Regions from separate parts of the Homo sapiens genome. Here region 1 is linked to region 2. Evidence: promoter capture Hi-C in human tissues and cell types (Jung and others, 2019). All regions are on one chromosome and are shown on one strand. Each heading gives the region's core, a stretch centred on a gene start or on the middle of the fragment in contact. The rest is flanking DNA. Distances are from core to core; before and after follow the strand shown.

What was found. Contacts are between HindIII fragments. The study calls those that stand out against the background at their distance.
Region 1: a contact is called between the fragment with the promoter of CHMP1A here and the fragment with the promoter of PABPN1L in region 2, in 1 of the 25 tissues and cell types used here (lymphoblastoid cells).

Annotation. Positions count from the first base shown.
Region 1 is chr16:89,653,159-89,659,248 of GRCh38, reverse strand. CHMP1A (charged multivesicular body protein 1A) reads left to right here and starts at 1,541. Exons shown (of 7, transcript NM_002768.5): 1 at 1,541-1,667; 2 at 5,326-5,345. The coding sequence starts at 1,661. It overlaps SPATA33 (spermatogenesis associated 33), which reads right to left and starts at 1,413. Exons shown (of 3, transcript NM_001271907.2): 1 at 1,301-1,413; 2 at 828-1,001. The coding sequence starts at 1,337. RefSeq lists an enhancer at 1,260-1,429 and silencers at 1,145-1,534, 1,755-1,814. The HindIII fragment of the contact is 33,607 bases long and covers 1-6,090 here.
Region 2 is chr16:88,865,410-88,872,137 of GRCh38, reverse strand. It overlaps PABPN1L (PABPN1 like, cytoplasmic), which reads left to right and starts at 5,478. Exons shown (of 7, transcript NM_001080487.4): 1 at 5,478-5,786; 2 at 6,197-6,332; 3 at 6,508-6,575. The coding sequence starts at 5,532. RefSeq lists an enhancer at 771-910. The HindIII fragment of the contact is 11,880 bases long and covers 1-6,728 here.

The DNA of each region.
Region 1 (6,090 bases), core at 292-2,791, 790 kb before region 2:
CACAGCAATGGGTCTCTGACCGGGCCACCTCCCCTGCGAACTGGCTTCCCCTGTTGGTAGGCACAGACCTCATCATGCCGCCCTTGTTTTTTATTTTTAAATATTTATTTTTTGTAGAGACAGGGTCTCACTATGTTGCCCAAGCTGGTCTTGAACTCCTGGGCTCAAAAGATCCTCCTGCCTCGGCCAAATAACTGGGAGGACAGGTGTGAACTACCGCCCCAGGCAGCACCTCCGTTGTTTAAAATATTTAACGCTTCCAGCTCCACGTGGTAAAACTGATGGAAAACTTTGTATTCTAGCTTCTTCCTACTTTTGGGGCCTCATCTTCCCCACACACACCCAAAGGTCTGGCCACACTAGGCTGTTATAAAAGACACCTTTGTCGCACCCAGGTTCTACTCCTCGGTCACCCTCCGCAATGTACTTATCCCCACAGCCCTCGGAGAGCTACAGTCCAGCCTGGGACGGCCTCCCAATGCTCTGTTCCAGTGTGCGGAGGCTCAGGGATTCTCAGTGGCACCAAGATACCCAGCCCTCGAGGAGAACCTCAGGTGAGACACACGCACACTGCCCCAGCCCCTCGACCACCTGGTACGCACTTATCACTCGGGAACTGACCTACATTTTCATTAAACTTATGTTTTCAACTAAGATTTCTGGATATTTACCTCCTACATAAAGTTCCCAAAACAAACCAGTTTCATCTTTACGGCGCGTGCCTGCTACTAGTGTCCATCCGGTAGGGTCTTACAGTAGGCTCCTCACCCCAGCCCCAGATCCTCCAAGCCACTGACCTCGCTTCGCTCCCTCCCGCCGTCTCCTACCTTCCAGCGAAGCTGCCGGCGGCGGGTGCTTGGCTGTCCCGGCCCCCGGGTGGAGGCTGTCCACAGGCTTCTCCGACTCCCTGTCTGCCTGCCTGGCTTCCTGGGAATGCTTCTCCATCAACTTCTCCTTAGATTTTGGAACTGAATAGGTGGATCCCTTCTTTTGCTCCTCACCTGAAATATATGGATCATCCGTTAGACCCGGGACTTACCGAATGCAGGGCAGTGGGTCCCATCGTCTTCAGTCGCCTGCGTGGGTCCAGAATAAGCTGGCTTCAAGTCTCGAGTCTCCGCGTTTCCGTAACCGCCTCAGGCGGGAAACGCGCCGTCCGTGGCGGACTCGGCGGCAGGAACGGTTCGCACCGGGCCGAGCCTGGCGCCTGCGCTCACACCGCCCCGCCCAGCCCAGCCCCGCCCTGGGCCCGCGCCCAGGGGCGGAGACGCGGGGAGCCCAGCGCCTGCGCCTCCTTTACCTTTCCTGGGTTTCTCTTTGCTTTTGGAAAGGCCCATGGGTGAGCCCACCGCCCCCTCCGACGCAAGCCCGGGTCCCCACACCTCCGCGGCCGCGGAGCCGGGAGCGACTCACAAAAGGTCCTCGCGCCAGCGGCGTGCGTCACCATGGCGACCGCGCGCCGCGCAGCCGCGCCCCGCCCCTCTGGCGGGACCGGCCACCATCCTCTCGCGAGAGCATCCCGTGCGACCGGAAGTGGGGCGGCGACCCCGGAAGTCCCCGCCGGGTGCAGCTTGGTCGGTTCGATCGCCGCCGGGACCTGACACCGCCCGGAGTTGGCGTCCCTTCTCCCTCTCCGAGTGCTGCTCCTGTCATTGTGGCCATGGACGGTAAGAGGTCGCGGCCGTCCTCCGGGGACTCGCGCGCGGGGCGGGGCCGCTTCTCCCACTGGCGTGGGCTCCGCCCACCTGGGGCCGCGGGCAGGACTCAGGAGAGCTCGGGCCTCGACCGTCGATCCCCCGGGACCCCATCCCCAGGGCCTCGACCACCGACCTGGGACCCCTTTTCCCGGTCGTCGTCCCCCGATCCCCGACCCGGACCCCATCCCCAGGGCCTCGACCACCGACCTGGGACCCCTTTTCCCGAGCCTCGTCCCCCGATACCCGACCCGGAACCCCTTCCCCAGGGCCTAGACCACCAACCCGGGACCCCTTTTCCCGGGCCTCGACCCTCGATCCCCGACCCGGAACCCCTTCCCCAGGGCCTCTACCACCGACCCGGGACCCCTTCTCCCGGGCCTCGACCCCCGACCACCGACCGGGACCCTTCCCAGGCCCCCGACCCCCAACCCGAGATCCTTTACCCCGGGCCTCGACCCTCGACCCGGGACCCCTCCCCCCAGGCCTCGATCCCCGACCCCCGATTCGGGACCCCTTCCCCGGGGCCTCCATCCCCAAATCTCAACCCGGTATGCCTTCCCCGGGGCCTCGACCTCTGACCCCCAACCATGGACCCGGGACCTAGACTCCCGACCCAGGACCCCTTGCCCAGGGCCTGGACCCCCGACCACCGACCCAGGACCCTTTCCCCCGCCCCTGGCACTCCTCAGCGTCAGGCGCCCTTTCCCGCCAGCTCGGTAGGGGGGACTGTGCGATGCCTGTTCGGCCTTTCGGGACTTGGAATGTCGGGTCAGAGGGCACCAGAAAAAGTGACAGTTGCACCCCCTGCCCCAAACAGCATCACTGCAAATCAGAAGGACTCAGACAGAAAGCGCTCCCTGAGTGCCAGGCCCTGGTCACAGCAGCTCTTTGCGTCCATTCTCCATGTGGGGAAGCAGAGGTTTGAGCAGGAGCCAGCACAAGCGTTTCTGTGCTCAATGGGTCGCCCTAATTCTTACCTTCTACATCTGGGGCTAGCCGGCTGTGTGCTCAGGGATACCAAAGAACAGGAAGAATCTGGCAAAATGAAGTCCTATGTTTGCTGAAACATCGTTGGGCTGGTGTGATGGGCAGGCTTTTAAAAATACTTTTTGAAGGGCTGGGCGCGGTGGCTCACGCCTGTAATCCCAGCACTTTGGGAGGCCGAGGCCGGCGGATCGCAAGGTCAGGAGATCGAGACCATCCTGGCTAACACAGTGAAACCCCATCTCTACTAGAAATACAAAAATATTAGCCAGGCGTGGTGGCGGGTGCCTGTAGTCCCAGCTACTCGGGAGGCTGAGGCAGGAGAATGGCGTGAACCCGGGAGGCGGAGCTTGCAGTGAGCCGAGATCGCGCCACTTCACTCCAGCCTGGGCGACAGAGCGAGACTCCGTCTCAAAAAAAATTCTTTTAGTTAGAAGTGTGAAAAGCTATAGTACCACCGTGTCATCATCATGAAGGAAATGTGTAGAGATTTTCTGCCCTGAGAGAAGATGAAAGATAACATCTACCTCCCGCCACAAAAAATATGCTGGCCAGGCCGGGTGTGGTGGCTCAGGCCTGTAACCCCAGCACTCTGGGAGGCCGGGCGCGGTGGCTCACGGCTGTAATTCCAGCACTTTGGGAGGCCGGATGTGGTGGCTCACGCCTGTAACCCCAACACTTTGGGAGGCCGAGGTTGGTTGATCACCTGAGGTCAGGAGTTTGAGACCAGCCTGGCCAACATGGTGAAACCCCGTCTCTTCTAAAAATACAAAAATTAGCTGGGCCTGGTGGCGTGCACGTGTAATTCTAACTACTTGGGAGGCTGAGACAGGAGAATCGCTTAAACCTGGGAGGCAGAGGTTGCAGTGAGCCAAGATGGTGCCGTTGCACTCTAGCCTGGGTGATAGAGTGAGACTCCGTCTCAAAAAAAAAAAAGAAAAATTGTGGCTTTTCACTCCACAGCTCACTCAACTCTTTTGAGGGGACTTCTCTCAAGCCCATGTCAGATTTCCTCAGAGTCAGATTTTGCCTTAGCTGGGTTTTTGTGCTGCCACACACGGCTGGAAGAGAAAGCTGAGGTGAGGAAAGCTGAGGTGAGGGAAAGCTGAGGTGAGGAAAGCTGAGGTGAGGAGAGCTGAGGTGAGGGAAAGCTGAGGTGAGGGAAAGCTGAGGTGAGGGAAAGCTGAGGTGAGGGAAAGCTGAGATGAGGAGGGCGGTTTGGCCAGCATCCCACAGTGAGTTGGGTGGGACGGCCCGCCTGGCCTGCACTGTGCCATCTGGGTCAGGCTGGCTGTTTTCCAGTCACAGATAACCTTGGCCGTGACCACACCTGAACTGATAGATGACAGGTTGAACTTGGCCTTGACCACGCCTGCACTGACAGGCGATAGATTGAACGATGCCCAGAGCTTTCTGGAACCCCGGGAGATCTCATCTTGGAGCCTTGGTGTGCATTTGTGAACACTCAGTAACCTCATTCTTTTACAGGCTCCATTTCCTCGTTGTGGCTAGTGTGGTAAAGCCCTTTCAGGAATCTGGGGTCAGGGTCGCTCTCCAAATTTAGCAGTTGAATGAATTGAGATCAATCCTACTTTTTAAAAAAAATATTTTTTCTTTTTTTTTTTGAGACGGAGTCTTGCACTGTTGCCCAGGCTGGAGTGCAGTGGCGCAATCTCGGCTCACTGCAAGCTCTGCCTCCCGGGTTCACGCCATTCTCCTGCCTCAGCCTCCTGAGTAGCTGGGACTACAGGCGCCCGCCACCACGCCTGGCTAATTTTTTGTATTTTTTGGTAGAGACGGGCTTTTACCGTGTTAGCCAGGATGGTCTCGATCTCCTGACCTCATGTTCCGCCGGCCTCGGCCTCCCAAAGTGCTGGGATTACAGGCGTGAGCCACCGCACCCGGCAAAAAAATATATATTTTTCTAATAGAGATGAGGTCTGACTATATTCCCTAGGCTGGTCTGGAACTCCTGACCTCAAGTGATCTGCCCGCCTCAGCCTCCCAGAGTGCTGTGATTACAGGCGTGAGCGACTGTACCGCTGGAAATCAGCTCTTTGATGTCTAAGAGTTACCACCTTGCTATTTTTATCCATTTACCTTTGAGGAGAAAGAGTCTGTAAAAAGTAAACTGTCAAGTACTGAACTTTTAAATTGGCCCAGGCTGGCCTCAAACCCTGGCTTTAAGTGATCCACTGGCCTCGGCACCCCCAGAGTGCTGGGATTACAGGTGAACTTTTAAATTGGGAAAGAATCCCAAGGGACATTTGCAAAGTTGCATTAATTATAAACCACCATCTTTTGGATTCTAACCATGGCCAAAAGATGCTGCGTCCATGACCTCTTCTGTCCTCACACTAACCCTTTGAGATTGGCTGGTACCACCCTCATGTTCCCAACAAGGAAACAGGGAGGGAGGGTCTGCATTTGCTGGGCCCTGTGGCTAGCAAGGAGCCAGGGCTGGCACACGAATCTGTCTCGTGCCTCCCCTGTTGGGGGGGGCTCCCCGAAGGCCCCAGGCAGGTGTGGTCTGTGTGTGTGTTCTAGCTCCTGGTGTCTAGAAGGAACCTAGTGAGTCCTGCCTGCCAGAAGTGTAACGTCCCATTCCCAATCCTCAAACCATTAATTCCCTCTTTCTTTGCAGATACCCTGTTCCAGTTGAAGGTATGTACCGAATGGCCGTTCACCCCAGCCCTGTTCTGGTGAGGACAGATAGTATAAGCCACGCTCACTCAGAGCCACAGAAACAGTCGGGCAGATTATATAACAGTTGAGTGACCGCCACACAGGGCTCAGACTGCTGACCAAGGAGGGGATTATTGAGCCACCTTGGTGACATATTAGCTCTTTTCTTATCTGAGGCTAAGTGGAGGCAGATCCTTAGGGTCATCCATGAAAGCCATGAAAGAAATAGTGTTATCTTTTTTTTTTTTTTTTTTTTTTTTGAGACGGCGTCTCACTCCGTCGCCCAGGCTGGAGTGCATTGGCGTGATCTCGGCTCACTGCAACCTCTGCCTCCCGGGTTCAAGCGATTCTCCTGCCTTAGCCTCCTGAGTAGCTGGGACTACAGGCGCCCACCACCATGCCCAGCTAATTTTTTTTTACATTTTTAATAGAGACGGGGTTTCACCACGTTGGCCAGGATGGTCTCGATCTCTTCACCTCGTGATCCGCCTACCTCGGCCTCCTAAAGTGCTGGGATTACAGGCGTGAGCCACTGTGCCTGGCCCGGAGTGTTATCTTAAGAAAGACAACTTGGGGCCAGGCGCGGTGGCTCACGCCTGTAATCCCAGCACTTTGGGAGACCGAGGTGGGGTGGATCACAAGGTCAGGAGATGGAGACCACAGTGAAACCCCATCTCTACTAAAAACACACAAAAAAATTAGCCGGGCGCGGTGGCAGGCACCT
Region 2 (6,728 bases), core at 4,229-6,728:
CTGCTCCAGACACCTGCAGGGGCAGATAAAATTCTGCTGCAGGTGCTGTGAGCAGGTGGGACCAGTACCTCGCAACAGCTCTGGCCAGTTGGGGCCACCTGGAGCTCCAGGTGGGTGGCCGGGGCCAGGAGCACACACTGGGTGGCGGCCCACACACCTGCCCAGGGTCCCCGACCAGGGCGCCAGGGTGAGCACATTCCCTGGCAGGGCCGCGACGCTGCAGGGCCGCCCTCTCCCACTCCTTGTTTCCAGGGGTCAATGCCTGGAGGGGGTGTCCCCAGGAGAGGAGGGTGACCCCATGCAGCCTCCCCGAGACCCCAGCACTCTTGGAGCCCCACTCCTCGGGGTGTACTCACAGGTGCCAGGCTCCCATTCCCTTTCCTGGGATCCCAGATGGCTCAGAGTTGAGTCCTTACGGCCTGAGACTGGGGACTTCTGGGAACAGACCTGCCTGGATAAATTCTGCCAGGAGTGATGGGTGCTCCCCAGGGTCCTCTGCAGCCTCCCTGCCCTGCATCCCCGAGCCCCGGGGCCTATTTCCTCCCACACTGCCCTGCAAGCTCCCACACTGAGGGGGTGCTCTCCAAAATGGGGCTGGGGCCCTGGATGATGAGCGTGCTGGCCGGAGAGGAAGACAGTGAGGAGAGGGGGGAGTCCATGGGGCTGGCCTCCCAGAGGCCCGCCAGCTCCCGTGCACACTTCAGAGATAAGGCCAGGGCGCTGCTGACAACCCCTGCTCCATTTTCCCGAAGTTCTAGGAAACTCCATTTTGGACACTTTCTGTTCTTTATGTTTCAATCCAGCCAAGCCCCGGAGTAGCTTCCCAAAGACCCAGAGGAACGGGAACTCAGCGTCAGTACTCAGAGTGAAACCTGCTTTTGAAATACGTCAATGACGGCAACAGGCCTCCCTTGTCCCCACCTGGCTGGGGTGGGGAGCCCCGCCAGGCCAGCTGTCAGCTCCCCAACCCCATCTGCCAGGGCCGAGGGGGTCGGGCCGGTGAGGACCAGGCGGGGGCACAGCCATGTGCAGCCTGGTGGGGAGGGGACTTACTCTCTACTTTCTCCTCCTCTTTTTTTTGACTCTCCCAGAGGAGTTGAGTTGTTTTCTGTAGTTGTGAGAAGCCCATGCCCTGGGTCTGCAGGCTGTGCAGGGCTGCGAGGTGGCCCTCGCCGCTCCGTCTGACGTACTATGGGTTTGGCCTGTAGATGCTGTGAGATGCAATAGTCGGGTTAGCGCCGTGTCCGTGTAATAAAGCGAACGTTCGCTGTCGCCTGGCTGTTCCTCTCCTTGGGTCCCAGGAGGCTTCGGCTGAGCCTCGTCTCACCCGTGAATTCACTAATTACCTGCTGGGGCTCCTCCGTGCCTGGTAGGGCGGGGCCTCCCCATGCACCACGCACACTGCAGGGACAAACAGGCCAGTGTGTGACGTGGGGCTGGGGCGACGGGGAAGAGGCAGGGCGGGAGCACGACGGGGAAGAGGCAGGGCGGGAGCACACAGGCAGGGAGGAGCAGCAGCCCCAGCCACGAGGGTCCCTGCAGGGCTGGCAACGGCTGAGCCTGCAAAGGGGACTTTGGGGGGGTCCCAACAACTTTACACCCGGGAGATGGTCCTGAGGATTCCAAGACTGGAGCCCCTGCCTGAGCAGCCCCACCTCAGACAGTGCTGGGGCTGGGGCCATGACACCTCCGACCCCGATGGGGGACACAGGGGACCTCAGGGGACACAGACAACACTGAGGGGAGGCCAGGCACGGTGGCTCACGCCTGTCATCCCGGCACTTTGGGAGGCCGAGGCGGGTGGATTGCCTGAGGTCAGGAGTTCAAGACCAGCCTGGCCAACATGGTGAAACCCCATCTCTTCTAAAAATACAAAAAATTAGCTGGGTGTGGTGGCGGGTGCCTGTAATCTCAGCTACTTGGGAGGCTGAGGCAGGAGAATCCCTTGAACTCAGGAGGTGGAGGTTGCAGTGAGCCGAGATCGTGCCACTGCACTCCAGTCTGGGCAACAGAGTGAGACTCCATCTCAAAAAAAAAAAAGAAATGAAAACTGAGGGGACACAGGGGACCTGAGGGTGGACAGCACAGGAAGGGACGGCTTGCCCCTCTCAGCCACCCCCATGGGGCCCTGGTGTTGGGTCACACACGGATCCTGTCTGGAATAGGAGTTGTCCTGGGCGCTGGGGCCCCAGGGGCCAGGCTGCCATGAATCCTCAGGCCCGGCTCTGGAACAGGGTGTATTTGAAGAGTGTCACTGGAAAGGCCAGGGTCGGAGCCGTCTGTCCCCTGCCAGGCAGCTGGCAGGAGCCCTGGCCGGGCCTTGTGTGTCAGCAATCTCAGACAGGGTGAGGATGACAAGGTTTTCCATGGCCGGGGCCCGAGCTCAGAGGGGCATGCGTCAGGGCCTGGGCCGAGTCCAGCAGACTCTGGTCTTGGATGGAACTGGTTGCAATCCTGCCTCTGACAGGGAGGTGGAGGCACGGGTGCTGGCAGACCCTCCAACACACAGGCACAGACACACGGGGCAGGGGGCTCCATCCCAACAGGAGGATCCCAGGCTGAGGCCGCACTCCACCCAGCGTACCTGTCCTCGGTGCAGATGTGGGCGCTGCCCCTGAGGAGCTTTGGTTTCTAAGGGGAGAGCTGGCCAAGTCATCAACACTGGACGGACAGCAGGAAAGGCGTGAGGACAGCGGCTCTCGAGGGAGGAGGAGCAGCCCGGCAGCCCTCCCGGAAACAGTGGCACCGTGTTCGCAGGGGGAACAGCGTCCAGGGACCACGCACACGTAAGTGTGTGGCTGTGCGGAGCCAGGGAGAGGGGAAGGGGCGTCCAGGGCCATAGCCAGGTTCCAGACAAGGCCCATTCCTCCCCGACCTCATGAGCCTGCCCCAGAAAATCCTCTGGGTGGTGAACAGATGGGGTGACAGCATGGTCTTCAGTCAGCCTCCTGGAGGTGGGAAAAGAAAACAGAATTTCGGGACCTAAAACGCACTAAGCCAAAGGGAAAAGTCAAGCTGGGAGCCGAATCACACACACCTGCCTCCCATTTTCTTCCTAATTGGACAGCCACGAAGATGAAGAAGCCTGTGCCTCCTCGCATCGCGCTTACAGGGAAATTCCTTGTGGGTCCCAAGATCTTGGCTCTGAAACAGTTCTGCTGGATCCCACCCAGATAGTGTGATCTAGCAGCTTATCTTCCCAGGTATGGGACAAAGGACAGAGCTAACGTTACCCTCCGCTCACCGGAGGCGAATGCGAACCTGCCAGCTTCCTATTCCCTGTGGCAGTTTTATCTTCTGTGGAAACGCAGAGTCGCTGAGCGTGGGGCTACGTAATTCTCTTCTCTACCCCCACCTTCCACATTTCAAAATGTGCATTTGGTGACTGCCAATCAGAGATTCAAAGGAACGCTACCACTTGCCTTTTATCCGCCCTCCCTTTTCTTTCCTTCCTGTGTTCCCCTCCTGCCCGCTCTTTCCCTTTAAGTATAAAAGTCTCCAAACCCTCTTTGGGTTTTTTTGTTTTTGTTTTTTGAGACAGTCTCACTCCGTCGCCCAGGCCGGAGTGCAGTGGCGCGATCTCGGCTCACTGCAACCTCTGCCTCCCGGGTTCAAGTGATTCTCCTGCCTCAGCCTCCCAAGTATCTGGGATTACAGGCGCCCGCCACCATGCCTGGCTAATTGTTTTTGTATTTTTAGTAGAGACAGGGTTTCACCATGTTGGCCAGGCTGGTTTTGAACTCCTGACCTTAAGTGATCCGCTCACCTCGGCCTCCCAGACTGCTGGGATTATAGGCGTGAGCCACCATGCCCGGCCTCCAAACCCTCTTTGGAAAAAGCAGAGCACAGATGTTGCCTGTGGCTTCGTGTTTCTTTTTCCTGGGTGCACCCTTAACCTTGGCAAGATACACCTCTAAACTGATTGATTGAGACCCATCTCAGACACCTTCTGGCTTTTACAGAGGTGAGAACAGACTGGGTGCAGGAGCCTGGGTTCCCAGGCTGTGGCAGCCTCCATGTCCACCTGCTCCCCGAGCCCCCAGCCCAAGATGGAGGAAGGGCCGCCCTGCGTGGGTGGTGCATGGTGCAGCAGTGCAGCTCCAGCCTAGGCCACGCCCTGTCTCTCTCTCCTCCCCCAGTCCCAAATTCCCAGGAATCCCAGCCCCACTGGCTAAACACCGGGGTGCAGTCACAGAGAGGATGGCCTCGGCCTGGGGGTAGGAGCTGTGCAGGGGGCCCCGTCTCCCACCACCAATGGCAGGGGTAAGAGCCATGCATGACCCCCTGGCCCCGAGTCCTTCACAGAGTGGGTGGGAGACGGCAGCACTGGAGATGAAGGCCAGAGCAGACTCCAGCAGCCGCGGTGGCAGGTGCAGAGGGAGGCGCAAGGGCGGACACGGGTCACCTCCTGCTGCAACCCTGCATGGGTGAAGCCAGGTGCAGACACCACCGGATGCCCACTGAATTCCGCCACAGTAACTCACGCCGTCACTCCCCACGGAGACCCCGCCCCACAATAACTCACGCCGTCACTCCCCACGGAGCCCCCGCCCCACAGCAGAATAATTCTGGCCTCATGGAAGTGGCTCCCACCTAAAAGATGACCCAGACCAGGTGCGGTGCTCACGCCTGTAATCCCAGCACTTCGGGAGGCCGAGTCGGGCGGATCACCTGAGGTCAGGAGTTCGAGACCAGCCTGGGCAACATGGTGAAACCCTGTCTCTACTAAAAAGACAAAAAAAATTAGCTGGGCATGGTGGCAGGTGCCTGTAATCCCAGCTACTCAGGAGGCTGAGGCAGGAGAATCACCCGAACCTGGGAGGCAAAGGTTGCCGTGAGCCGAGATCGCGCCACCGCACTCCAGACTTGGCAACAAAGCAAGACTCCTGCCTAAAAAAAAAAGAAAAAAAAAAAAAAGGCCCAGAATAAGGGTTAGGGAGGCAAGGGTCCCTGGGGACTCCATGGGGGTCAGGATGCAGAGACAGCTGTTGCTGCCCCTCCTCTGGGCCCAGGACCCCGCCCCAACCTGCCTCGGCCCTCTCATCCCATGCACCTGCTCTCGGTCTCTGCTCAGGCCCTGCCTCTCCTGGTCGGAAGCCACCTCTCCAGCCTGCTTGGTCCCTGGTACTAGAAGAAACCACTCCCGTGTTCCCACTTAGATCGAGTGTTCATGCAGTGTGGCGTTCGTGCCGTGTGGATGCTGCTGAGGTGTGAACCCTGTCACAGACCAAGGCTCCAGTGAGCCACAGCGTGGCCAGGCGGAAGCAGAAGAGACCGGTGACCCCCACTCAACTCAGCCTCTCCTTCCTCCAGGGAGAGTGTCCTGGAGGTACCTGTCCGAGTGACAGGGAAGGGGCGGGGCCGGGAGCCAAGGCTGGAAGCTCAGCCCCACTCAGCCTTTGCAAATGCTCTAGTGGGAGCAGCTGGCCTCAGGGGAGGGCTTAAAACTCCAGGAGAGCCTGGGCAGGTGCGGACGCGAGGGGAGTGGAGGGGAGGCCTCGCCTGGCCCACCTTCCTCCTGCCCCTCTACCATGTGGCCCTTCCCGAGCCGCTCTCTCTTCCCACCCCCGACTCAGGCCTGGCTCCAGACGGTCTCCTCAGACCCTGAGGCCCAGGGCTGGGGGGCCTGGAACGAGACCAAGGAGATTCTGGGGCCAGAGGGTGGGGAAGGGAAGGAGGAGAAAGAGGAGGAAGAGGATGCAGAGGAAGACCAGGATGGGGATGCAGGCTTTCTGCTGTCTCTGCTGGAGCAAGAGAACCTGGCTGAGTGCCCATTGCCTGACCAGGTAACAGCTGTGTGGAGGCCCTGGGGATCTCAGGGGACCTGGGGCACAGGGGCTGGTGGAGACACGGGGTCTGGGTGACGGATGGCTGCAGCTGACTTAGGAGGGGAGAGGGCCATTGCCCACCTGCCTGGACGAAGGTGGCAAGGAGACCCCCCGCCCCCAGCCACACAGACTGCAGGGTCAAGGTGGCCTCTCTCGCCTGGGGAAGGGCCCTTGAGGTGCGGTTTCGGGGGCTTCTCTGCAGGGGCGAGTTCATCCCCAGCCAGCTGCCCCAGGAAGGAGTGTCCCTGTCCAGAGAAGGGCTGCCCCTTGGGGCTGTGACCCTCTGCTGGAGCTGGCAGGCCACACACCCACCTTCCTTGAGCAGAGCCTGCAGGCTGCCTGCCCGGCTCAGGGCCGTGTGTCGGCAGGAGCTGGAGGCCATCAAGATGAAGGTGTGTGCCATGGAGCAGGCCGAGGGGACGCCACGGCCTCCAGGAGTGCAGCAACAGGCCGAGGAAGAGGAGGGCACCGCGGCCGGGCAGCTGCTGAGCCCTGAGACCGTGGGTAGGAACCAAGGGCACAGGCCGCCCCCCACTGAGCAAGGGTCCCACAGTTTCCATTAAGGTTGGGCCTGGCAGGCTCCAAGGTGTCACCTCCCCTATAAGCCTGGGCGACCTTCCCCGTGAGAGGAGTGAGGAAGGAACCAAGGGCCTGCGGGCCTGAGCTGTGTTCTCCGCAGGCTGCCCCCTCTCTGGGACCCCCGAGGAGAAGGTGGAGGCTGACCACAGATCCGTCTACGTGGGCAACGTGAGTGGTGGGCGGGGTGAAGGGGCAGGCAGCGAATGGGGCCCCATCTCTACCAGAGGGTCTGGCGCCCGGCCATGGGCCAGGCAGCCTTGCTGGGAAGGGGGTCTGACCCTGGGGGCAGCCCCGTCACCTTGAGGAAACACTGGCCTGGGC